3 separate regions of the Homo sapiens genome follow, and regions 1 and 3 are each linked to region 2. Evidence: promoter capture Hi-C in 16 types of primary human blood cells and fetal thymus (Javierre and others, 2016). All regions are on one chromosome and are shown on one strand. Each heading gives the region's core, a stretch centred on a gene start or on the middle of the fragment in contact. The rest is flanking DNA. Distances are from core to core; before and after follow the strand shown. Region 1 overlaps XRCC1 (X-ray repair cross complementing 1). Region 2 holds the start of IRGC (immunity related GTPase cinema). Region 3 overlaps XRCC1 (X-ray repair cross complementing 1).

Region 1 (2,700 bases), core at 138-2,637, 170 kb before region 2:
GGTGATGGGATGTGAGAAGGACTCAACAGGCCATTGCAGGCCTGGAATATAGAAGGTGAATGGAATGTGGGTGGCTTCTAGAAGCTGGAAAAGACAAGAAAACAGATTCTCCCCTCAAGCCTCCAGAAGGAACGCAGCCCTGCCTACCTTGATTTTTAGCCCAAGGATACCCATTTTGGACTTCAGACCTCCAAACCTGTAAGATCATAAATTTCTATTATTTTAAGCCACTGAGCTTGTGATAATTTGTTATAGCAGTAGTACAAAACTAACATGGTGAGTTATCGGTGGGAGTGTGAATGAGCAAACGAATGAGTGAACATGAAGTCTAAAGCCACCCTTAGCTGGGCAGTGTGGCTCAACACCTGTAATCCCAGCACTTTAGGAGGCCAAGGCGGGAAGACTGCTTGAGGCCAGAAGTTCGAGGCCAGCCTGGGCAACATAGTGAGAGCCCATCTCTACAAAAAATAGAAAATTTATCAGGTGTGGTGGTACATGCCTATAGTCCCAGCTGCTCAGGAGGCTGAAGCAGGAGGATCGCTTGGGCCCAGGAGTTCGAGGCTGGAGTGAACAATGATTGCACCACTGCACTTCAGCCTGGGCAACAGAGCAAGACCCTGTCTCTAATAATAATAATAATAATAATAATAATAATAATAATAATAAACCACCCTCATCTTAAAGATGCAAAAACAAAGGTCCAGAAAGAGACAGGAGTGAGACTGGTAGCCCTTGGTTGATGAGGCAAAAGTTGGGAAAGGGCTTGGAATGTCCAATAAAAGGTTACCCAAAGGTCAGATCTCAAACCTACCTCTGACCCTGGCCTCTGTCCTGCTCAAACCCCCTCCCAACCTTCCCACCCTCAGATTAAAGTCCAGGCTTCTCAGCCTGGAGTTCGCAGACCTTCAGGCCAGCCCTGTCCAAAAGACCTTTCTAGACTGATGCAAATGTTCTCTGTACTGCCTAATACAATAGCCACTGAGCAATTGAAATGCATGGCCAGTGTGACTATGGAAGTGAAGTTTACATTTCATTTCATTTCATTTTAATTAATTTAAATAGCCACCTGTACCCAGTGGTGATCACACTGGACAGCAGAGCTGCAAGGACTGTGCCTGGCTTTCTAAATCTGCCCCCAAAGCCTCTTTGCCAAAGGCAGCAATGCTCTTCTGCCTGCCTCAGGCTGCTTCCCACCTCCTGGCCCATGCTATGGCCTCTGCCTAGAGCACCATCCCATCCTCTGCCCTGATTCCCTCACAATCACCTCAATTCCCACTTAAATGTGGTGGAGCCTTGAAGGGGGTGCAGGGTTTGGGTAGGTTGCTTAAAATGTCCCTTCCTCCCATTCTACCTCCTAAATTAGGTGATGTAAAACCACAGTGGTGACATTCATTATACAGCTACTTCTGAAAACCCTGGAGGAAAGGCACTATCCCTGGCCTGGGGACGCTGAGGCTTCAGGAGAGAGACAAGCCTCATGGGTACCCAGGCCTCCAGCCACAAAGGGACAGCCAAGATACAGGTGTGGCTCAGAGGGCCAGAAAAAGTTGAGGGGCAGTGCTGAGGGTCAGATTCCCAGTTCCCTGCCTCTTGCCAACACAGGGATAAGGGGCCAAGCAGAAGAGACAAAGAGTTCCTTCTCTACCAGATCTCTGACGGAGGTGCCCAGCATTCTTCCCCAGGTCCCAGGGAGCCTCTTAGAGTTTTGGGAGACTCTTGGATGAGAACCAACTCATCTTTATTAAATGCATCGTGTGTGTGTGTGTGTGTGTGTGTGTGTGTGTGTGTGTATAGCACATACTTCAGGCTTGCGGCACCACCCCATAGAGCTGGTGAGGAAGTAACTTCTGCTTCTCATTGCAACTGTAGATCCATCGGGGACGAACGAATGCCAGGGAGGGGTTGTCCATCAGGGCCTGCAGGGTGGGGTGGAGTCCATACGGGAATGTGTCATCGAGGGGAGGACGGAGGAGATGCAAAGGTGTGCCCGGGTCTCCCATTCTCTGCCTCTTTGGTACTCACCTCCTCAAAGCTGGGATCCCATTCCTGTGCTGTGATCACAAACTGAACCCGGTCACTCATATAGTCCTCGAGCTCCCTGGCGGGAGAGAAGAAAAGAGGTAGAAGGCACATCAGGGAATCAGCACTGACGTCCTACTCCCCAGCCACTCTCAATGGCTGTCCCCACACTGTCCCCACCTATGCGCCTCTAGGTTGCCTCTAGGCTCCATTCTTTCATGTATCCATCTTGCCACAGCCACAATGACCAGAGCTCCCACAGTGGCTAATCCTCAGGCTGTCCCTTTCAGAAGCAGGGGTAGGGGTAGGGATCCTCGCCATACAGAAGAGGAAACTGAGGCAAGCAATGCACCCTGGGCTGCCGGTGGTGGGCAAGCTAGCATTCGGATTCCATGACCTGTGCCCACCTGCTGGGCATGGCCCTTCTCCATCCTCCTGATGGTCTTCTTTCCCACACCCCCACCCCTCCCAGCAGGTCCCTGAGCGTTCCCTTGGATCCATCACCCCTTCCCCACCCCAGTCCCTGGAGACTCACCCATTGAAGGCTGTGACGTATCGGATGAGTTTCCGCCGCTCGTCCCCAGGGAACTCCCCGTAAAGAAAGAAGTGCTTGCCCTGGAAGAAATCTGCAGGAGAGAAGGGGGCTAAGGTAAGCATGAGGCCCCAGGAGTTCCCAGGCAC
Region 2 (2,700 bases), core at 89-2,588:
GTCCGGGGAAGTCTGAGAACCATGTTGTTCACTCTCTTCAGCTCTGTGTGTTTGTGTCAGTCAGTGAGAGCATGAGTGAGTCGTGTGTCTTTTGCCCTGCACCTCCCTTTCACCTGTGGCTTAAGAACTCTGTACTATGCGGCCAACAGCCCACTCTTCCCCAGCTCTCAGGGTGGCTCTGAGCTAGTCTATTCCCCTTCTGGGCCTCTCTCTCCTTAGTTGTTCTCAGAGGCTCCTTTCCAGAACTGGCCTGCAGATGGTCAGGAAAATCCTCTGAGTAGCGTTATTGTAAATTCCCTACAAGAGGAGAATGGAGAAGGCCCTGTGGAGCCTGGCCTGGGCAGAGAGGAAGCCCGGAGGGGAGACAGGACAGAGACACTTATAAAGGACAAGAAGGGGCCGGGTGTAGTGGCTACACCTGTAATCTTAGCGCTTTGGGAGGCGGCATAACCTGAGGTCAGGAGGTTTGGGAGGCGAGGCAGGCGGATAACCTGAGGTCAGGAGTTCAAGACCAGCCTAGGCAACATGGTGAAACCCCACCTCTACTAAAAAAAAAAAAAAAAAAAAAAAATTAGCCAAGCCTGGTGGTGCATGCTAGTAGTCCCAGCTACTCAGGAGGCTGAAGCAGGAGAATCACTTGAACCCAGGAGGCGGAGGTTGCAGTGAGCCAAGATTGTGTCACTGCACTCCAGCCTGGGTGACAGAGCAAGACACTGTTTCAAAAAAAGAAAAAAAAGAAATCAATGACTAAATTATTGGGCTTACAAGATAGCAGATCAGCCTCCCGAGTAGCTGGGACTACATGCATGCACCACATCTGGCTAATTTTTGTATTTTTAGTAGAGATGGAGTTTCACCACATTGCCCAGGCTGATCTCAAACTCCTGGCCTCAAGTGATGCACTCGCCTCGGCCTCCCAAAGTGCTGGCATTACAGGCGTGAGCCACTGTGCCCACCAGCAATGACCGAATTTGTATCATCAACTTTCACACTTCTCTGGGGAACTGACAGTCCCCTGGGTGGAGGGTGGAGTGGTAGCAGGGCCAAGCCCTTGGAAACCAATCTGTGAATCTGAGACTTTGTCCTTGGGGGGTGATGGAGACCATGGAGGATTTTGAACAGGTCTTGGTGTTAGAAAGATCTCTCTGGAGTCTTCAGGGGAACTGGAGGGCCCAGTGTGAGTGGGTGGTGACCCCATGAGCAGCTGGGGCTTGGGGTCCCTGCTCCACCTCCGGGCCCCACCCCCTGACATCACTGTCGCATTATTGCACCAGGTCTGGCTGACCAATAAGCTGCTGCTTGCTATGATAATGGGTCCTAGCAACGGTGTCTGACCTTGGCTAAGAGGGAAGGAGATCCTATCAGTGGGGAGAGTGTGAGGGGAGAGGGAGAGCCTGCAGGGCAGGTGAGTCCCCCAGGGCTCTCTCGCTGGGCCCCTGTGCGTGGGCGGAGCAGGAGCTTATGGTCTAATCCGGACCCCCTCAGCCCAAATTCCAACCACTGACTTGTCTGCCCCTTGCTGCCAGGACCTGTTCCAGGTTCCTACTCTTCCCACCGCAGACCATACTAGGGAGAGGGCACACCCAGGATAGGAGGCTCAGATCTGGAGGCAACAATGTCTTTTTTTTTTCCTTTTTTTTTTTCTGAGACGGAGTCTCGCTCTGTCGCCCAGGCTGGAGTGCAGTGGTGCAATCTTGGCTCACTGCAACCTCCGCCTCCTGGGTTCAAGAGCTGGGACTACAGGCATGCGCCACAACACCTGGCTAATTTTTGTATTTTTAGTGGAGATGGAGTTTCACCATGTTGGCCAGGCTGGTCTCGAACTCCTGACCTCAAGTGATCCACCCACCTCGGCCTCCCAAAGTGCTAGGATTACAGGCGTGAGCCACCATGCCCAGCCGGGAACAATGTCTTAAGGACATATTTCTGTGGGGGGTGGAGTGGGGTAGCAGAGGATGGGGTGAGTGGTAGGAGGTGAAGAGACGGGGTGCAGGGGGCAAGGAGACAATGCAGGAGGCAGGGACATGCAGCTGAAGGGAGAGTAGCTCTCTAGGTGGGTGAAGGAGCCTGGGGACCTGGGTTGGGGTCCTGGCTATGCCTCTGGATGAGGAGACCTCATTTGTCTTGTCTGAGCCTCAGTCCTTCTCCCTGTCAAATGGGGACAGTGATCCCAGACATGAGCAGCTCTCCCAGGGCACCCTGAAGACCCTTAGTGAGTAAATGTATTTTAGAGATGATGGGCCAGAGGAGGGTGAGTGGGAAGAGGGAGGACCAGGGAAGCTCCTGGTGAGGAGGAGGGATCTGAGGGGGGACCATCACGACAGGAGCTCTGGGCGGTGGGAGGGGAACTGAACCCCGGGAGGCAAGGGCTGCCATGGCAGGGGTGGGGTTTCATGGAAATGACTCCTGGTGTCCAGGTGGTCCCCATGTCTGGCTTCCCGAACCCAAGGGCGTCTGAACCCAAAGTCAGCCTAGGGCTAGCTGAACGGGGTTTGTGGGCATCACAGCAGCCCTGCGAGGTGGGGAGGAGTATCCCCCACGGGGCAGCTGAGGCTCAGACAGGGCGAGGACTTGCTCAAAGTCACACAGCTAAGAATATTACTAATGATAAGAATAATGACGATGATGGTGATGCCAATGACACGAGGCACCTGCCCTGAGCCAGGCGCCGTTTTATGGGCTGCTTTATGTCATAACTCA
Region 3 (2,700 bases), core at 144-2,643, 140 kb before region 2:
AGGATTGCCTGAGCCCAGGAGGTTGAGGCTACAGTGAGCCATGACTTTGCAACTGCACTCCAACCTGGGCAAGAGAGTGAGACCCTGTCTCAAAACATAACATAACAACCCAGAGATAAGCCTACTGCCTTGGTGGCCAGAAATGTCTGCCTTTATCAGTTACGTCAAAAGAATCAAAATTAGCATTTGATGAATCCAGAGTAACCCCACAAATTAGTCATTGCCAGATGCAATCAGTCATTCCAAAGGGTCTCTGACGTGGAGTAAGTTAACAAAACAACTGCTGCAATGCTGATCTCCCACTCCTGTGTGTGGCCCCTGCAGTTGATTGTCAACATGGAGCCAGCAGGATCCTGTGAAGGCCTAAGGCAGATCCTGTCCCTCCTCTGCTCGGAGCCCTCCGGTGGCTCCTATCTCACACCTGGAGTAAAAGCTCAAGTCCTTTCAATGGCTTTCCAGGCCTTAAGTGGTTTTTTAGGGGTTCCCAGTCCCACCCTGTTACCTCATCTCCTACCTCTCTCCCCCTGGCTGACTCCACCCCAGCCATACTGGCCTCCTTGCTGTCACAAGCCAGCTTCAGAGTCTTTTCCCTAGATACATACATAGCTCATGTTGCTCAAATGTCCCCTTTTCAGGGAGGCCTTCCCGGACCCTACTATTTAAATAAAAATCCTTGCCACTGCTCCAGCTCCAGCTGGGGCACTCTCATTCCCCTTCATTAAGTTCCTCCATAGCACTCATCATCCAACATATGTTTCACTGACTCATTTGTCAGTCTTTCCCTACTAACGTGAAAGCTCCACAAGACTGAATTTCTTTTGTTTTTAAGAGACAGCATCTCATTCTGTTGCCCAGGCTGGAGCGCAATGGTGCGATCATAGCTCACTACAGCCTTGATCTTCCAGGCTCAAGTGATCCTCCCGCCTCAGCCTCTGGAGTAGCTGGGACCACAGGCATAGGCCACCACGCTTGGCAGATTTTTGTATTTTTAGTAGAGATGAAGTTTCCCTGTGTTGCCCAAGCTGGTCTCGAACTGCCAGGCCTTGGCCTCCCAAAGTGCTGGGATTATAGGCGTGAGCTTACTGCACCCCACTGAGAGTGAATATTTTTTGTCTTCTGCTGTGTACTGCTGTATTAAAACAGTGCTTGGCCTACAGAAGGCACTTAATAAATACTTGACTAAATAAATGAGTGAATGAACAAATAAATCCATCATCTACTCCCGAGTCTATAGGTTCTTTCTCTGCACTGACAACTTCCCCACATTCTGTCTTCAGCTCCACATGTGATCCCCAACTGCCTCCTGGATGCCACCCCTAGAATGTCCCAAAGTCACATCAAACCTGGACATCCCAACTGAAACACATCACCTCCCCAAGCTGCTCCCTCTGGGGTTTACCATGTTGGTGACCGCTGCAATACTCCCTCAGTCTCTCCCAGGCCAGAGACAGGTTCTGTCTCTTCTGCCTCCAGTCACTCTGTTTCCACAGCAACTGGGGTAACAGAATGAAATGTGATTTCCCTGGAGTCACTTGATCATAAGAGAGCCCAGTGGAATCATCACCCACTAAGTAATAAAAACACAAATCCCTCCCTCTACACAAACACCTACATGTTGACAGAGCACTTGTGCAGACATTATGTCACCGAATTTTCACAACTCCGGGCTTGGATGTCATTATTCCCAATGGACACATGAGAAAACAGGTTAGAGAAATGAAACAATTTTCTTGAGGTCACCGATTAAGAGGAAGAGCTGGGGGCTTGAATCTAGATCTCAAGACTAAAACTGTCAGCAATCTGTATCTATCACAGTTTAAAAGACTGAGGTCAGGTGCAGTGGCTCATGCCTGTAATCCCAACATTTTGGGAGGCCAAGGTGGGTGGATCACTTAAATTAGCATTTGGTGCTCATTTGCCTTGAACTCCTGAGGTCAGGAGTTCAAGACCAGCCTAGCCAACATGGCAAAACTCGGTCTCTATTATAAATACAAAAATTAGCCAGGCATGTAAATTCCAACTACTCAGAAGGCTGAGGCATGAGAATCATTTGAACCTGGGAAGTGGAGGCCATTAGTTGACAGGCACTAAACACTGACATCAATTGGGGTGGACCAGATGATGTTACAGTAACAAAGGAGTCCCTAATCTCAGTGGTTTAAAACAACCAAGTTGTATTAACTTACACTGTAATAATGCTGTGTAACAAATCATCCTAAAACTGAGATCTTTTCTTTTTTTTTTTTTTTTTTTTTTTGAGATACAGTCTCACTCTGTCTCACAGGCCGGAGTGCAGTGAAACCATCACAGTTCACTGCAGCTTCAACCTTATGGGCTCAATCAATCCTCCCCGCTCAGCCTCCCTGGTAGCTGGGACTACAGGCATACGCCACCAAGCCCAGCTATTTTTTATAATTTTTCGTAGAGATAGGGTTTCCCCATGTTACCCAGGCTGGTCTCAAACTCCTGGGTTCAAGCGATTCACCCACCTCGACCTCCCAACATGAAAACTGAGACTTATACCAACAAGCATTCTTATAAGAATTTGTGGGATGGCTGCTTTGGCTGCAGTTTGGGAGGATTCAGGTCTCTTCCATGAGATTCCACAGTTTTCTGGGATTAGCAGTAACCTGGCAAATGTTCTCATGGCATATTATGGGAGCACAAAAGCCAAGTGCATTTAAGGCCCTTGCTGAAGTT

Evidence for each region. The method cuts DNA at HindIII sites, captures the fragments that hold promoters and counts their contacts. A CHiCAGO score of 5 or more calls a contact.
Region 1: a fragment that was not itself captured here is called in contact with the fragment with the promoter of IRGC in region 2 in 3 of 17 cell types (neutrophils, monocytes and activated CD4 T cells); the score reaches 7.0 in neutrophils.
Region 3: a fragment that was not itself captured here is called in contact with the fragment with the promoter of IRGC in region 2 in 1 of 17 cell types (neutrophils); the score reaches 5.1 in neutrophils.

Annotation. Positions count from the first base shown.
Region 1 is chr19:43,541,590-43,544,289 of GRCh38, forward strand. It overlaps XRCC1 (X-ray repair cross complementing 1), which reads right to left. Exons shown (of 17, transcript NM_006297.3): 15 at 2,555-2,645; 16 at 2,023-2,098; 17 at 1,722-1,916. The coding sequence ends at 1,803. Among named protein-coding and RNA genes, the nearest start is that of ZNF575, 9.8 kb to the left of the region's middle. The HindIII fragment of the contact is 7,833 bases long and covers 1-2,700 here.
Region 2 is chr19:43,714,738-43,717,437 of GRCh38, forward strand. It overlaps IRGC (immunity related GTPase cinema), which reads left to right and starts at 1,339. Exons shown (of 2, transcript NM_019612.4): 1 at 1,339-1,405. RefSeq lists an enhancer at 1,312-1,812. The HindIII fragment of the contact is 15,065 bases long and covers 1-2,700 here.
Region 3 is chr19:43,570,694-43,573,393 of GRCh38, forward strand. The region is part of intron 2 of XRCC1 (X-ray repair cross complementing 1); the gene reads right to left. Among named protein-coding and RNA genes, the nearest start is that of XRCC1, 3.5 kb to the right of the region's middle. The HindIII fragment of the contact is 6,228 bases long and covers 1-2,700 here.